2 separate regions of the Homo sapiens genome follow, and region 2 is linked to region 1. Evidence: promoter capture Hi-C in human tissues and cell types (Jung and others, 2019). All regions are on one chromosome and are shown on one strand. The core of a region is centred on a gene start or on the middle of the fragment in contact, and the rest is flanking DNA. Distances in the headings are between cores, read along the strand shown.

Region 1 (7,067 bases), core at 1,001-3,500:
TTTGGGTAGGATGATTCAGGGAGGGCAGAGACTGGCTCAGTTTGAAGCAAGTGGAAGTGACACTGGGCAAGTCTGGTTGGGTACCAGTGGACCAGTACCTTCAAGAGGGCAGAACCTTGAGTTGTTTTTCAAGGTCCAGGTTTCAGGATCCTAGGCTCAGAGAGTTGACTGTGAGGCGGCTGGCAGGATCTGGCCCTAGGGACTGACCAAGCTATGGCCAGTGAAACAAACTGTGGACAGGTAACCTGGGTGCTATTGAAACTCAGTTGGTCTACTCCCTGCCCAGGCTTTCTCTACCCTCCAGAAGTCCCCCTTGAGTTCACAAGTGATTTCTGGAATGTTCTTTGGGTCCATATTAAAAATATATCTCTTGGCTATAGCATTTCTATAGAAAGCTATTCCCTTCCATTACATTTTCAACTTGTGTTTCTCAGAGTCGCCTGAACTTCCCTGGGAGGAACTTGGGGGACTTGGCTATTCCCCAGCTCCCTGCTGGTGAAGACCATGAGGCTGGAGGTAGGAGGAAGTGGAATGTGAGAGAGAATGAGGAGGGAGAAGAGATAGACCTGGGTGCCTTGGTGTGGAACGGAGGGAGAGGGAAGACACCCAGGAGGTTTTGGTTCCCAGGATGCCAGTGCTTTGTTGCCTGGGAAAATACAGTGTTACATCTTTCTGTAGGAAGGATGGGGAAAGTCCCTGTCCCCTGTTTGCTAGCCATGAGGCAGCTTGTCAGGAGAGTCTCTGGATTCCTGTCACTTTAATTCAATACACAATCTTGTGTTTACTATAATGATTTCCTCAGAAACTACAAAACTGAGTACTGAAAAGAGTTCCCAGGAATTAACGGAAATGGGACAGAGCCCTCCTCCCCAGCACTTTGTGCACACTCAGGACATCGTGAGCCACCTGCCACACCCAGAAGAGAAAAATCTGACCGGCATCCGGTTTGAATTAGAGCAGGAAGGAAGAGAATTGTGCTCGCCTTTGTCTTTGCCTTTGCCTTTGCTTACCCAACTGCTGGGACCAGAGGCAGCTGGGTTGAACTTTGTCTTTGGTCAGGGGTGGGGGTGGAGGGGACAGAATCCATTTCCCTGGGCTCCATCCTCTTTCTGGTCATTTGGACATGTTTCCTGTGATCTAAATCTGATGTAAGGAAATGACAATTGTGAAAGACCCAGCGTGAGAGAATCTGATGGGAGGGTGGGTCATCAGGGACCAGCTGGCCTGGCTGATGATGTATTAATATCTTAATCACACAGAGGACCCCAATCTCCTTCCAAACCTAATGAGCGGAAGTGGTTCTCAAAGCTACTCAGCCAGCTAGCAGCTGCCATAACCCAGTCAGCTGTCCTAACTCTTAGTCCTGTAATCCCTCCTCCTCATAGAAGATTGTAAACTGGCAGCCCACAGGGCAAATCTAGTGGCCAGGTGTGTTTCATTTGGTCTACATGGCATTTTAAGAACTTTTTGATGCTATCAACATTTTTTAAAAGTGGCAAATTTCACCTAAATATCTGGATTTTTGGCATGTTTTGAAAGGTTGGAAGACCTGGGAATGGTAGGCCCATGTTCCTGCAGGGGAGTGCTCGTCTTCCAATGCGGCGCACAAGCTCCAGCGTCCTGCGCTAAACCTAATTGGCCTGGCTGAGGATCTGCTCCTGGAATGCTGGTTGGTCGCCTCCAACTGTCTTTGACTTAGAGATTATTTACTGTCAGCTTACTCATAGTGGCGCAGAGAAGTGGTTTCTCTGAGCTAGAAGCTTCTAAGAAAAGTCCATCCTCAAAGCTGTTTGTGGGATAGACCTGGCTCCTCCATTGTAATATTCCTGATTCCAAACACTACTGGAAAGAGCTCTGAACTGGCAGTTAGCAGGCCTGGGCTCCCATCCCGGCTCTCCTCCTAATGAGCGAAGCCATTTCAATGTAGTCGAACTTAGCCTCTGATCCTTAACTTTCCCTATCTGTAAATGAGGGCGACTAGATGGGTGCGGACTGTCATCCGTGTTGAGACTTCCGGCCCCCGCAGAATCAACCTTACCGGCGGGAGCACCTCGAGGGGACGCCGCTCGCACTAGGGGGCGCCAGGGCCGCTGCAGAGCCCGAGCCAGAGCCAGGGGGCGGGGCCGCGTCTCGGGAGCGAGGCCTGAGAGCGGCGGGGCGGGGCGTCGGCGGGCAGTCCCCTGTGCCAGGTGTGGTTTGGTCCTCCCAGGGCGCCGTAGGCGGTGCATCCCGTTCGCGCCTGGGGCTGTGGTCTTCCCGCGCCTGAGGCGGCGGCGGCAGGAGCTGAGGGGAGTTGTAGGGAACTGAGGGGAGCTGCTGTGTCCCCCGCCTCCTCCTCCCCATTTCCGCGCTCCCGGGACCATGTCCGCGCTGGCGGGTAAGGAAGGGCTGCTCCGCCCTGTCCCGCTGTTATCTCCGAAGTCCGGTTCCATGGCGCCTGAGGGAAACCGGCTGTCTCTCGGGGGTTTCGGGCTGGTTGGGTCCTCGTGGGTCCGAGCTCCTCAGAAAAGCTGGGAGGCGGGGTGGGCACAGCGCTCCCCAGGCATTTGGAGGGTGGGACTCCGGGAATGGGGAGGCAGGGCATCCTGGAGACAGAGGGCTCCGAGGGGCAGGCGGGTTGGGAGGCTTCCCGCGAGTTGAGGTCCCGGGGAGGAAGAGATTCTGGGTCTGCCAGGAATCCAGCTTTTTGGAGGGACCTGGCGGCCGCAGACCCCCAAATTAACCCTTTTTAAGGAAGTTGAAAAGCATGGGGTTCTCTTATAGTGGAAGCTCTGTGGAATTTGAGGAGTACAGGATCCTCTAGGGTTCAGGACAATTAGGAGAGTTACCCCGGGTTCTGGGTTTTCTGAGGGAAATGGAGGATGTGACTTCCCTGCCAAGACCCAAGGCTTCTCGCGGGCATCTTGGTGTCTGGGAGTCCCCCGGGGCTGGGAGCTCTTTGCAGAAAATAAGGGAGTATGGAGCCCCTTGAGGTTTAGGACAGGACTAAGGGTAAGGAGAGATCGGACCATTCTTTTTGGGGCCCAAAGATCTCTGCTACAGGTGGCGAAAGTAGGCCACCTGGGGTTCTGAGTCCTCCTGTGGAAGCTCCCTTGGCCTCTCTAGACTAAAGACTAGAGGGATTCGGCCAAACACCTCCTGGAAGGAAGAGTTGTCTAAGGGTGAAGGGTAGCTTCAGAGTTGGGTTAGTTGCACCTGCAGTCACCTCCCCGCCACCTCACACACCACCCTGCAGCTTCCTGCCTTCCCCATCTTTTCCCCCAGCAGTAGGAACCTTCTGTCTCCTATGTTTCCCAGCCACCTGTGTGGGTGGCCCACCTCTGGGTCCACCAGGGTCAGCGTCCAGAAGCTTTGGAGAGGCGGCAAGAGGGTATTGAGGTGGAGGGGGGCTGGCTATCTGCCCCCTGCTTCCTGGCTTTCCGTCTGTGGACAGTCACTTCCTTCATCTTGAATGCAAGGACTGGGCTACCAGTGGGTCACTTCCTCAGCAAGGGAGCATGGGATTTTCTCTTCACTGGTGATAACAGACTTCTGGAGAGAGCTAGGGGTGGAAATGCCTAAAACAAATTTTTTTAGGCTGGGCGTGGTGGCTCATGCCTGTAATCCCAGCACTTTGGGAGGGCAGGGCAGGAGGATCGCTTGAGTCCAGGAGTTTGAGACCAGCTTGGGCAATATAGCGAGACTTCATCTCTTAAAAACAAAACCTTGTCTCTTAAAAAAGATTTTTTTTAAGCTTACAGAGTCCTTCAACTCGAATGATTTCCAGTAACTTTTTTTTTTTTTTCTTAGATGGAGTCTTGCTCTGTCGCCCAGGCTGGGGTGCAGTGGCACAATCTTGGCTCATTGCAACCTCTGCCTCCCGGGTTCAAGCGATTCTCCTACCTCAGCCTCCCGAGTAGCTGGGACAACAGGGGCCCGCCACCACGCCCGGCTAATTTTTTTGGTATATTTAGTAGAGATGGGGTTTCACCATATTGGCCAGGCTGGTCTTGAACTCCTGACCTTGTGATCCGCCCGCTTCGGCCTCCCAAAGTGCTGGGATTACAGGCGTGAGCCACCGCACCCGGCCGATTTCCAGTAACTTTTTCTAACAGCTGTGTAATATAGGTTGCCTGTCTTGAACCCTGTTTCTTAGAAAATTGTGAAAGGTTTCACAGTACAATAGTCTAGAGGCATAAAGCCTCTAGATGCATTAGTTTATGCATTCTTTCTTTCATTCAAAGAATATTTGTTGGATTCTTCTGTGTCATATACTTAGCCAAATGCTGAGTACAGTGGTGACATAGTTCTTGGCTTTGTGGTGCTTAATAATCCTAGAGATGGACAATAAATAATTGTAACAATTGCAATAAATGCTATAATAGTTAAGGTAAACAATTGAGATAAGTGCTGTAAGAGTGCACCAGGGGTGAGGGTTTTCTCTACTTTTTTTTCTGTTTTGGTAGAGACAGGGTCTCACTATGTTGCCCACGGTGGTTTCAAGCCATCCTCCTGTCTCAACCTCCCAAAGTGCTGGGATTACAGGCATGAACCACCATGCCCATCCTCTACTTTTTTTTTTTTTGAAGGGAATACTTTTCTTAAAAATGCAAGTTTATGCTGACCCCTGGAGATAAGTAAAAGTTAGCCTGGCAAAAAAAGCTCACAGAGCATTCCAGGCAGAGGAAACAGCATAAAAAGGCCCTAGGGTAGGAAGGCATGTAGTGCCTTTGAGCCTTGGAGCTGGGAGGTCAATATGGTTTTTTGATTTTTTTGTAGGGGGTGGGGAGGAAGAGTCTTGCTCTGTTGCCCATGCTGGAGTACAGTGGCGCGATCCAGACTCACTGTACCCTCCACCTCCCAGGTTCAAGTGAATCTTCTGCCTCAGCTTCCTGAGTAGCTGGGACTACAGGCAAGTGCTACCACGCCCAGCTAATTTTTTGTATTTTTATTAGAGACGGGGTCTTACCATGTTGCCCAGGCTGGTCTCAAACTCCTGAGCTCAGGCAGTCCACCCGCCTTGGACTCCCAAAATGCTAGGATTATAGGCGTGAGCCACCATGCCCAGCCAAGTATGGCTTTTTTATAGATGAGGAGACAGGCCCAGAAATGACAAGGTTCCATAGCTAAATGAGCAGTGGTGGTCAGAGTTCATATTTTCCAACTTCAAGTTTAGTGCTTCCTCCTCTCTGTAGCACAAAAAGCAGAATGAAGTTGACTATGGAGTCTGAGAAGGAAGTGGGACTTAAACTTTCACTTGTTATTCCATTCAAACCATGTTCTGAGACACCTCAGATTCCTCGTGTAACCGGAGAATCGATAACAAATCAAATATTTACTGAGTGCCTGTGATGTCTGTGGCACTGGGCAGGACCAAGTTTTACCTCTTATAAATTTTAACAGGTGTTAGAGCCAGGAGAGAGTTTTGAGATAATGTATAGTCTCCTTGTTTTACCTATGAAGAAACTGAGGCTCAGGGAAAAAAAACGGAGTTGTCCAGGGTCACTCAACTAGTGGTAGAGCCAGAACCAAGGTAAGACTTCTGCAGTGTTCTTTCCAGTATTCCAGGCTGCTTAAGACGTACAGGGTCTGGCACATGGTAAGCCCTTAATAAGTATTTGTGGAAATGAGTTATATATAGTTTGTGCCTCTGAGAAACTTACTGTCTAGTTAAGGTAATTAAGGCAAAAAACAAAACTGCCATGCTGATCAGTAGTGGGATTGCGCCTGTGAAAAGCCACCGCACTCCAGCCTGGGCTACATAGCAAGATCCCCATCTCTTAAAAAAAAGAAAAAAATTGATAAGACAAGCTGTTATAAGGCTTGCGTATGATAACATTATAGAATTTCAAAGATGAGGGAGAATTCTCTTCAAACATTTATTCCACAAATATATATTGAGTTCCTGCTATGTGCTAAACTCTTTTGGCCCCTAGGGATACAGCAAGGAACAAGATAGACCAAATCCCTTCCCTCATGTAGTGTATGTTCTGGTGGGGAGAGATAGACAGCAAGTAAATGTATGAACATCATATTCAGGGATAAATCCATTGAAGAGAAGTGAAGTAGGGTAAGGGGATAGAAGAAGTGAGTTGTCAGGGAATGTGTTTGGCATGTTTAAAGAATAGCAGGGTATCCAGGGTGGCCATCAGTTTTGGTTAGGGAATACTTCTTGAAGTGGGTAAGACTTGAGAAATCTTAAATAGGCTTAAAGAAGGTGGGGAAGATGATATCTTAGTAGGGAAGAAACTTTGGGAGTAGGAGACAAAAGTAGGCAAGTTTCAGGTCTTCATAAAGGGTAGCAAATACGTGTGGTAGAGGCAAGGATTGGGAGGTGGAAGATTCATAGGAAGTGGAAGGTACAGCTGAGAATGTGGGTGCAACCGGACTAGAGGGTTTAATGCCAGGCTGAGGATTTTGGAAGTTTCTAGTCTACAGTAGGCACCGTAGGTTTAGAGAAAGGAAGACTCATGATGTGGGCACAGGGCCACCAATCTGGAGGTGGGTATAGTGGGCCCTGAGATGAGGTCTTAGTGGTAGCAATGAAGAAGGCACCAACCAATAAAAGATGCCTCCTGACATAGGCAGGCCAGGGTGACTTGGATGGTCCTGGATATGTGATGGAGCAGGGTAGGGTCCAAAATGACCACAAGATTTCAAAACTAAATAAAAATCCGTCATGATCAAGGGGCTGTATTAGGCTTTCCACATTCATGGTGGATTTTCTGCATCTTCTGGAGGCTGAGCTGATTCCCAGAACAGGGCTGCCTTCTTGTTAGTGTAACCTTGAGCGGGTCTGATAGGGCCCACCATCACACACATCTCATTTCAATGAGAGGACCTGAAACTGTAGCAGTCTCTTACAAGTCTACCTTCTTTCTCATCCTTTATCTATTTTTATATAGTAGAAAGAATTAGACTATTTTACCTATTAATTTACATTGAATAGTAACTAGAACATGAAACCAATGCCTGGTTTCATTAAAGTGTTCCTTGAACATTCTTTCTGGGATTCTTTTTTATCATGTCTTTCTGCCTGTAATTTGTTTTGTCCAGGAAAGAAAGTCTAAAATGTAGTTAAAGACAGG
Region 2 (6,725 bases), core at 3,770-6,269, 530 kb before region 1:
ATCCGGTCCAATCTGTTTGCCTTTTTAATTCTAAAGGTTCTGGTTGGCCATTTTTATCTTTTCCTAGTCCTTTTCCTGGGCAACATCCCATATTTCTCATCATTTGTCCTCTATTATTACTATATTGATCCATAGGAATAGATATTTCAGCATCCCATTGTTGCAATAAGTCTCTACCCCATAAATTGACAGGAATAGGTGTAAATGATAGGCTGAAATGTCCCTTCCTGACCATCTGGCCCTTGACATGGTAAAATCAAAGAACTTTGAAAAACTTCTGAGGCAGCTCCTACTCCAGCAATACCAATGGATGCCTTTTGCTTAGGCCAGTGCTGGGGCCATTGATTTATAGCAATAATAGAGACATCAGCTCCAGTTATCTACTAGTCCTTCAAAATCTTTTCCCTGAATAGTTACTGTGCAAATAGGTCTTTTGTCAGACACTTGATTAACCCAATACACAGCCTTTCCTGCTGGATTAGTATTACCAAAGCCTCCTGTTCTTTTCACTGTACTCTTCCTAGTTTTATGTAAGGTAACAGCAACAATTGAGCAATCATTTTTCCTGGGGAGGCAGACCACGGAGTCGAGGAACTAATAACTAATTTAATTTCTCCAGTATAATCAGAGTCGATTATTCCCATATGTACAGTAACACCTTTTAAATTCAGACTAGACCTTTCAAATAATAGACCTACTGTTCCTGAGGGTAAGGGTCCCCTAACTCCCGTGGGGACCTTTGGTGGCTCCCCAGGAAGTAAGGAGATGGGAATTGTGCTGTAGACATCTATGGCAGCACTGCCTGCTGAGGCGGGGGACAACTGTTGTACGTTTGTAAGGGTACTGGCTGTGCCGGGTATGCCTTGGTTTGTTGAGGGGCTCGAGGCGGGCCCCTCTTCCCATTTCCCGAAAGAGGTTGTCCATCTTTGCTAAATTTATAATGACACTGACTTTCCCAGTGATTGCCTTTCTTACACCGGGGACATACACCGGGACTTTTCTGTTGATTGATGGTAGTTTTTGCCTTTTGATTTCCTTTTCTACATTCCTTTCTTGTGTGTCCAAATTGCCCACAATTAAAGCAAGATCCTGAGAAATGGGGCATATTGTTTCCTACTCTTAAACCAGCCATAGTCTGATCTAAAAGAGTAGCCTTATATAAGTTACCTCCAATGCCATCGTAAGCCTTAATATATTCAGCTAAATAAGCCTTCCCTCTCAGGGGTCAAATAGCAGTTTGACACTCTGCATTAGCAGTATCGTATGCACGAAGCTGTGTTACAACATCCTGTGCTGTTTTATCAGTTATGGCTTTATACACAGCCTCTTGGAGTCAAGCAATAATATCAATATATGGTTCTTTGGGTCCTTGTCAGACAGAACTGAAAGAGGGATATTTTTCCCTTGTAACATTTATCCTTTCTCATGCCTGTAAGCACACAAAGTGCAGCTAAACAATGGCAACATCCTTCATTACTGCTTGATTTTCTAATCGACCCCAGTTGGGGCCAACTCCCATTAACCGTTCAAAGGAAACAGGCACAGGTGGCTGCACTTGTGTGTTTTCCCTTGCCTGAGTTTGAGCTTCATCAGTCCACCAAGTTTTAAACTGTAAATACTGAGACGGAGTGAGAACAGATTTTGTCAACGTATCCCAATCATATGGTATTAATTTATTATCAGAGCCATATTTTTAAAGTTTGCACAAAAGGAGGGTTCGGTCCGTATTGACTAATGGCGTCCTTCAATTCCTTTAGTAACTTAAAAGGAAAAGTAGCCCAATTAGCTATATTAGCCCTGCCTCCCTACTGGATTATAGTAACGGGAAATTGCCATGCTTCAAGGTCTCCCTCAGCTCTAGCTTTTTGAATAGAATTTTGTATAGCACCACCAATTGCTCCAGTTTTAATGTTGCAACTACAGAAGCAGTAAGTTTTTCGGCTAATTTATTTTCTTGCCCATTAAAGGGAGAGAGAGGAGGTGGCCATTCACTTAATTCAGCAGGTGGAGCCGACAGGCTAGTAAAACATACTTTTTTCAGTTTTCCTTTCTTTCATCTCCTCCGGTAGCTGTTCCTCACACTCAGAATCTGAAGTTAGTTTTTTACACTTGTCCTCCTCTTCCTCATCTGAATCTGCCTCATGATCTGTTTGAAATGGCTTAAGAGCTGCCTTTATTAGCACCCACATTGACCAAACGGAAACTAGAACTTCTGCTCCCTCTTTATATGCCTTTTTAAAGTCTCCCCCAGTTCTCTCCCATTTATTCAACTCCATAGTCCCTTGTTCAGGAAACCATGGGCAAAACTGCTTTACTGTACTAAAGAGTGATTAACAAATTGTGAGTACTAACTTTCATGCCCCCCTCTTTGTAATAAATGCTTTAAGAAATCTAAATAAGCAGAATGTCTGCTTTCACTTTGTCCCATTGTTACCCTGGTTCTTCCCAGTGCTCAGCTTTCCTGCCGAGCTTCTTTTAGACGTTCGACGTTCTTGGGTGTCCTGTGACAATGTGTCCTCCGCTTTCACATGCTCTAGTGTTCCTTCACCGGGGTCTTTGTCGCCCCACGTTGGGCAGCCAGGAATGTTGGGGTGATCAGACCCAACACCAGGTTGTGGGGACGACGAAGTCTGGTGGAGTCAAAGGAATGAAAAAAAAGTTTGAGAGAGAAAGTGGGACCAGGGGTCATGGCGAGTGTGGAAGCTGCAAAGGCCCTGGAGCTCTGGAAGCCCATGCTATTTATTGATGCTCAAACAAAGAAACAGTTGGTGAGGATGTGGGAGTTGAAAGGAAACAGTGTATCAAGTGAATGAGAAACATATAGCTGCTTGAGATAATGGGAGTGCTAGAAGCAAGGAGCCAGCAATTCTAGCAGACATGCAACCCCTGCCTCAGCTTCTCTCCCAACACTCAGCTTTTCTCCCAACACTGTTTGAAGGCAGGGACCAAGGATCCTCCAAGATTCAGTTCAGGCCTCTTTTCTTCTTTGATGCCAACAGCTGGCCCCAGTAGAAAAGGCCATTCTTTCCTGTGCTTCTGAGTCCCCACACCCGTCTTCACACAGAGTGCTTAGTGCACAACATCATTTGTTTGCACACTGTCGCTCCAATCAGGTTGTAAATATCTTTTTTTTTTTTTTTTGACAGAGTCTTGCTCTGTCGCCAGGCTGGAATGCAGTGGTGCTCACTGCAACCTCCACCTCCCAGGTTCAAGCAATTCTCCTGCCTCAGCCTCCCGAACAGCTGGGACTACAGGCACGTGCCACCACACCCAGCTAACTTTTGTATTTTTAGTAGAGACAGGGTTTCACCATGTTGGCCAGGATGGTCTCAATCTCTTGACCTCGTGATCTGCCCACTTTGGCCTCCCAAACTGCTGGGATTACAGGTGTGAGCCACCGCACCCAGCCGAGATGAGGTTTTATTATGTTGGCCAGGCTGGTCTTAAACTCCTGACCTCAGGTGATCCACCCACCTTGGCTTCTTGAAGTGCTGCGATTACAGGCGTGAGCCGCTGTGCCACCTGGTCTGGTTATAAATGTCTTGATGGCAGCGATGCTGACTTACTCATCCCTGCAATCACAATGCCTAGTAAATGGGGTAGTCACTCAGTGTTTTTTTTTTTTTCTCTTTGAGTCAGGAGTCTTGCTCTGTTGCCCAGGCTGGAGTGCAGTGGTACAATCTCAGCTCACTGCAACCCCTGCCTCCCAGGTTCAAATGATTTTCGTGCCTCAGCTTCCTGAGTAGCTAGGATTACAGGCATGTGCCACCACACCTCACTAATTTTTATATTTTTAGTAGAGATGGGGTTTCGCCACGTTGGCCAGACTGGTCTCAAATTCCTGACCTCAGGTGATCCTCCCATCTTGACCTCCCAAACTGCTGGGATTACAGGTGTGAGCCACGTGCCTGGCCAGCAAAGTCATTTAATTCTTGGGGACCCCTAGCAGGAACAAGAAACAGGAACACTTTCCAGCCTAGCCCTTTGTTAAATTAGGAAGTGTTACTCTGGCTATTAGAATTCTGGGCCTGGTCCAGCAGCTGACTTTGAAAGTTTGCAGGCCTATGAGGGACAGAGCCAGGGGCAGGCCTTGGACTGGGACCTCCTGTCTCCCCCAGTAATGTCTCTCTGGGCTTCAGCTCTCCCACTTGCTCTTCAGGGACAGTGGGGCTGGTGGGTGGTTTCTGCACTTCCTTCCATTTCTCAGATCCTGAGATGTGGCAACAGAGCTTTGCACACATAATGCTTCACAAACATCTGCTGAGTGGAAAGGAACAAATCCTGCTCTGAGCAAAGCCAGAAAATCCAGGCTTATCAAAAATGATCACTCAGGGAGAGTTTTACTTGACTAATGTGTTTATCACTTTACAAAGTGACTCCCAGTGGTATTCCTTATCCAGTCTGCTCATCCAGCAGCATTTTCAAAGCTTCTGCCCCAAGCCACTGTCATTCAAATGCACCTCCCCACTGGGTCAAGTTGGGTCTCCCAGCTAATGGAAGTTCCCCTGTACAGGAGCTTGGCCAGGCACAGTGTTTCATGCCAGTAATCCCAGCACTTTGGGAGGTCCAGGTGGGAGGATCACTTGAGGCTAGTAGTTTGGGACTAGCCTGGGCAATATAGCGAGACCCTGTCTCTACAAAAAATAAAATGAAAAATCACCCTGATGTGGTGGCATGTGCCTTTACTCCCAGCTACTTGGGAAGCTGAGGTGGGAGGATCTCTTGAGCCCAGGAGGTCAAGGCTGCAGTGAGCCAAGATTGAACCACTGCACTTCAACCTGGTGAGAGCAAAACCCTATCTCAAAATAAAATAAAATAAATCTCCCTATGGTTAAAAAACACTCATCTTCCACTTTATCCAGCATGTGTTTATTTATTAATAGCTCCTCATATGTACCAGGCACTCTTGTAGGTGCTAGAAATCATCAGTGAACAAAACTGACTCAAATCCTCTGCTTCCATGGAGATTGTATTTGAATAGTCTCAGGGGTGGCAGAGTAGGAAGAAAAGCAATCAGGTGAAACCGCTGGCTGCTGGAGTCTGATGCCTCTGGCTGAATGCAGGATGCCTCCTTTGGGCTTTATGGGGAGAACCTGGTTTACGCAGTCTTTTCTCTGTGCAATTCTTTGGCCTCTGGAAATGCTGTCCACAGGACTGGAAGGCTGTGTGTGTCCCTCCCTGCTGCAGTGAGGCTTCCTTTATCTGATGTGCATGGCCTCTGAAGTCAGATGGCTCTATTTGGAATCTCAGCTCTGCCTTGCACAAGAAAGTCATTTTGCCCCTCGGAGCTTCACCTTCCTCATCTGGAAACTGGGAATAATTGTAGTACCTACTTCATAGGCTTGCTCTGAGAACCCAGTGAGCTTGACAAGAACCTAGCCCAAGACCTGTCGTCTCACGGGTGAATGGGAAGGGGGTTGTGTCGGCAACTGTAATTGTGCTGTACTTGGAGTTGACACATACAATTCAAGAGGCAGCCTGGTGCTGGGGAGTGGGCCTCGGAATAATAATCTAGAGGTGGGAGTTCGGCTTCTATGACTCCTCAGTTTGCTCTGAGACCCTGGGTAACATATATCCCCCACCTTTTTTTTTTTTTTTTTTTTGAGACGAAGTTTCGCTCTTGTTGCCCAGGCTGTACTGCAATGGCACGATCTTGGCTTACTGCAACCTCCCACTCCCAGGTTCAAGCGATTCTCCTGCCTCAGCCTCCTGGGTAGCTGGGATTACAGGCACCCACCACCACGCCTGGCTAATTTTTTGTTTTGTTTTGTTTTGTTTTTGTATTTTTAGTAGAGATGGGGTTTCACCATGTTGGCAGGCTGGTCTTGAACTCCTGACCTCAGGTGATCCACCTGCCTCGGCCTCCCAAAGTGCTGGGATTATAGGCATGTGCCACCGTGCTTGGCCCTTAAATGCCTTTTCTGAGGATTGGTGATCTACTCTCTTCCCTCATATTCAGTTAATCCTTTAGGAGAAAGAAATTGGGCTGAGACAGATCCATATCCTCCAGGGGGCCTTGGAGCACCCCAAGCCAGCATGTGCCTGTTGGGAACCTGGTGGGGAGCAATGGTTGGTCACTGGGGCTCCAACCAAGCCCTCCCCAGGTACTTCTCGGGGACTGAGTGCACTTGCTCCACAAGAATGAAATGGTCACCAGGAAGAATTTTGGTCACCAAAGAATCCTTAGCTTTGTCATATTAGAGGGCTGGGAGGGCCTGATCCCCTGGAACCTGCCTTTCCAACCTGATTTCCCATACTTCTTCCCATAAGCCAGATCCCATGATTTCTCTCATTTCTCCAAACAGGCCTCTTGATTTTCCACCTTGGAACTAACTTTCTTCCTCCCTTCCTCCCTCCCTCTCTTCCTTCCTTTCTTGCTTTTGTTCTTCCTTTCTTCCATTCTTTCTTCTCTCCTTCCTTTAACCCCATCCCTCCCTCATCCCCTCCAATCCCCTCCCCTTCCTTCCATCGCCCAGGCTGGAGTACACTGGCGTGATCATAGCTTACCACAGACTCGAACTCCTGGCCTCAAGTGACCCTCCCACCTCAGCCTCCCAAGTAGCTAGGACTATAGGCATGTGCCACCAAGCCCCACTAATTTTTTTACTTCTTGTAGAGACGAGGGTCTCGTTGTGTTGCCCAGGCTGGTCTTGAGCTCCTGGCCTTAAGAAATCCTCCTGCCTGGGCCTCCCAAAATGCTGGGAATACAGGTGTGCACTGCTATG

What was found. The method cuts DNA at HindIII sites, captures the fragments that hold promoters and counts their contacts. A contact is called where the count stands out against the background at its distance.
Region 2: a contact is called between a fragment that was not itself captured here and the fragment with the promoter of LIMK2 in region 1, in 1 of the 25 tissues and cell types used here (dorsolateral prefrontal cortex).

The regions. Positions count from the first base shown.
Region 1 is chr22:31,210,048-31,217,114 of GRCh38, forward strand. It overlaps LIMK2 (LIM domain kinase 2), which reads left to right and starts at 2,251. Exons shown (of 16, transcript NM_005569.4): 1 at 2,251-2,377. The coding sequence starts at 2,362. RefSeq lists enhancers at 1,792-1,971, 2,934-3,859 and a silencer at 1,952-2,351. The HindIII fragment of the contact is 2,868 bases long and covers 674-3,541 here.
Region 2 is chr22:30,676,999-30,683,723 of GRCh38, forward strand. No RefSeq gene overlaps it. Among named protein-coding and RNA genes, the nearest start is that of DUSP18, 12 kb to the left of the region's middle. The HindIII fragment of the contact is 9,026 bases long and covers 507-6,725 here.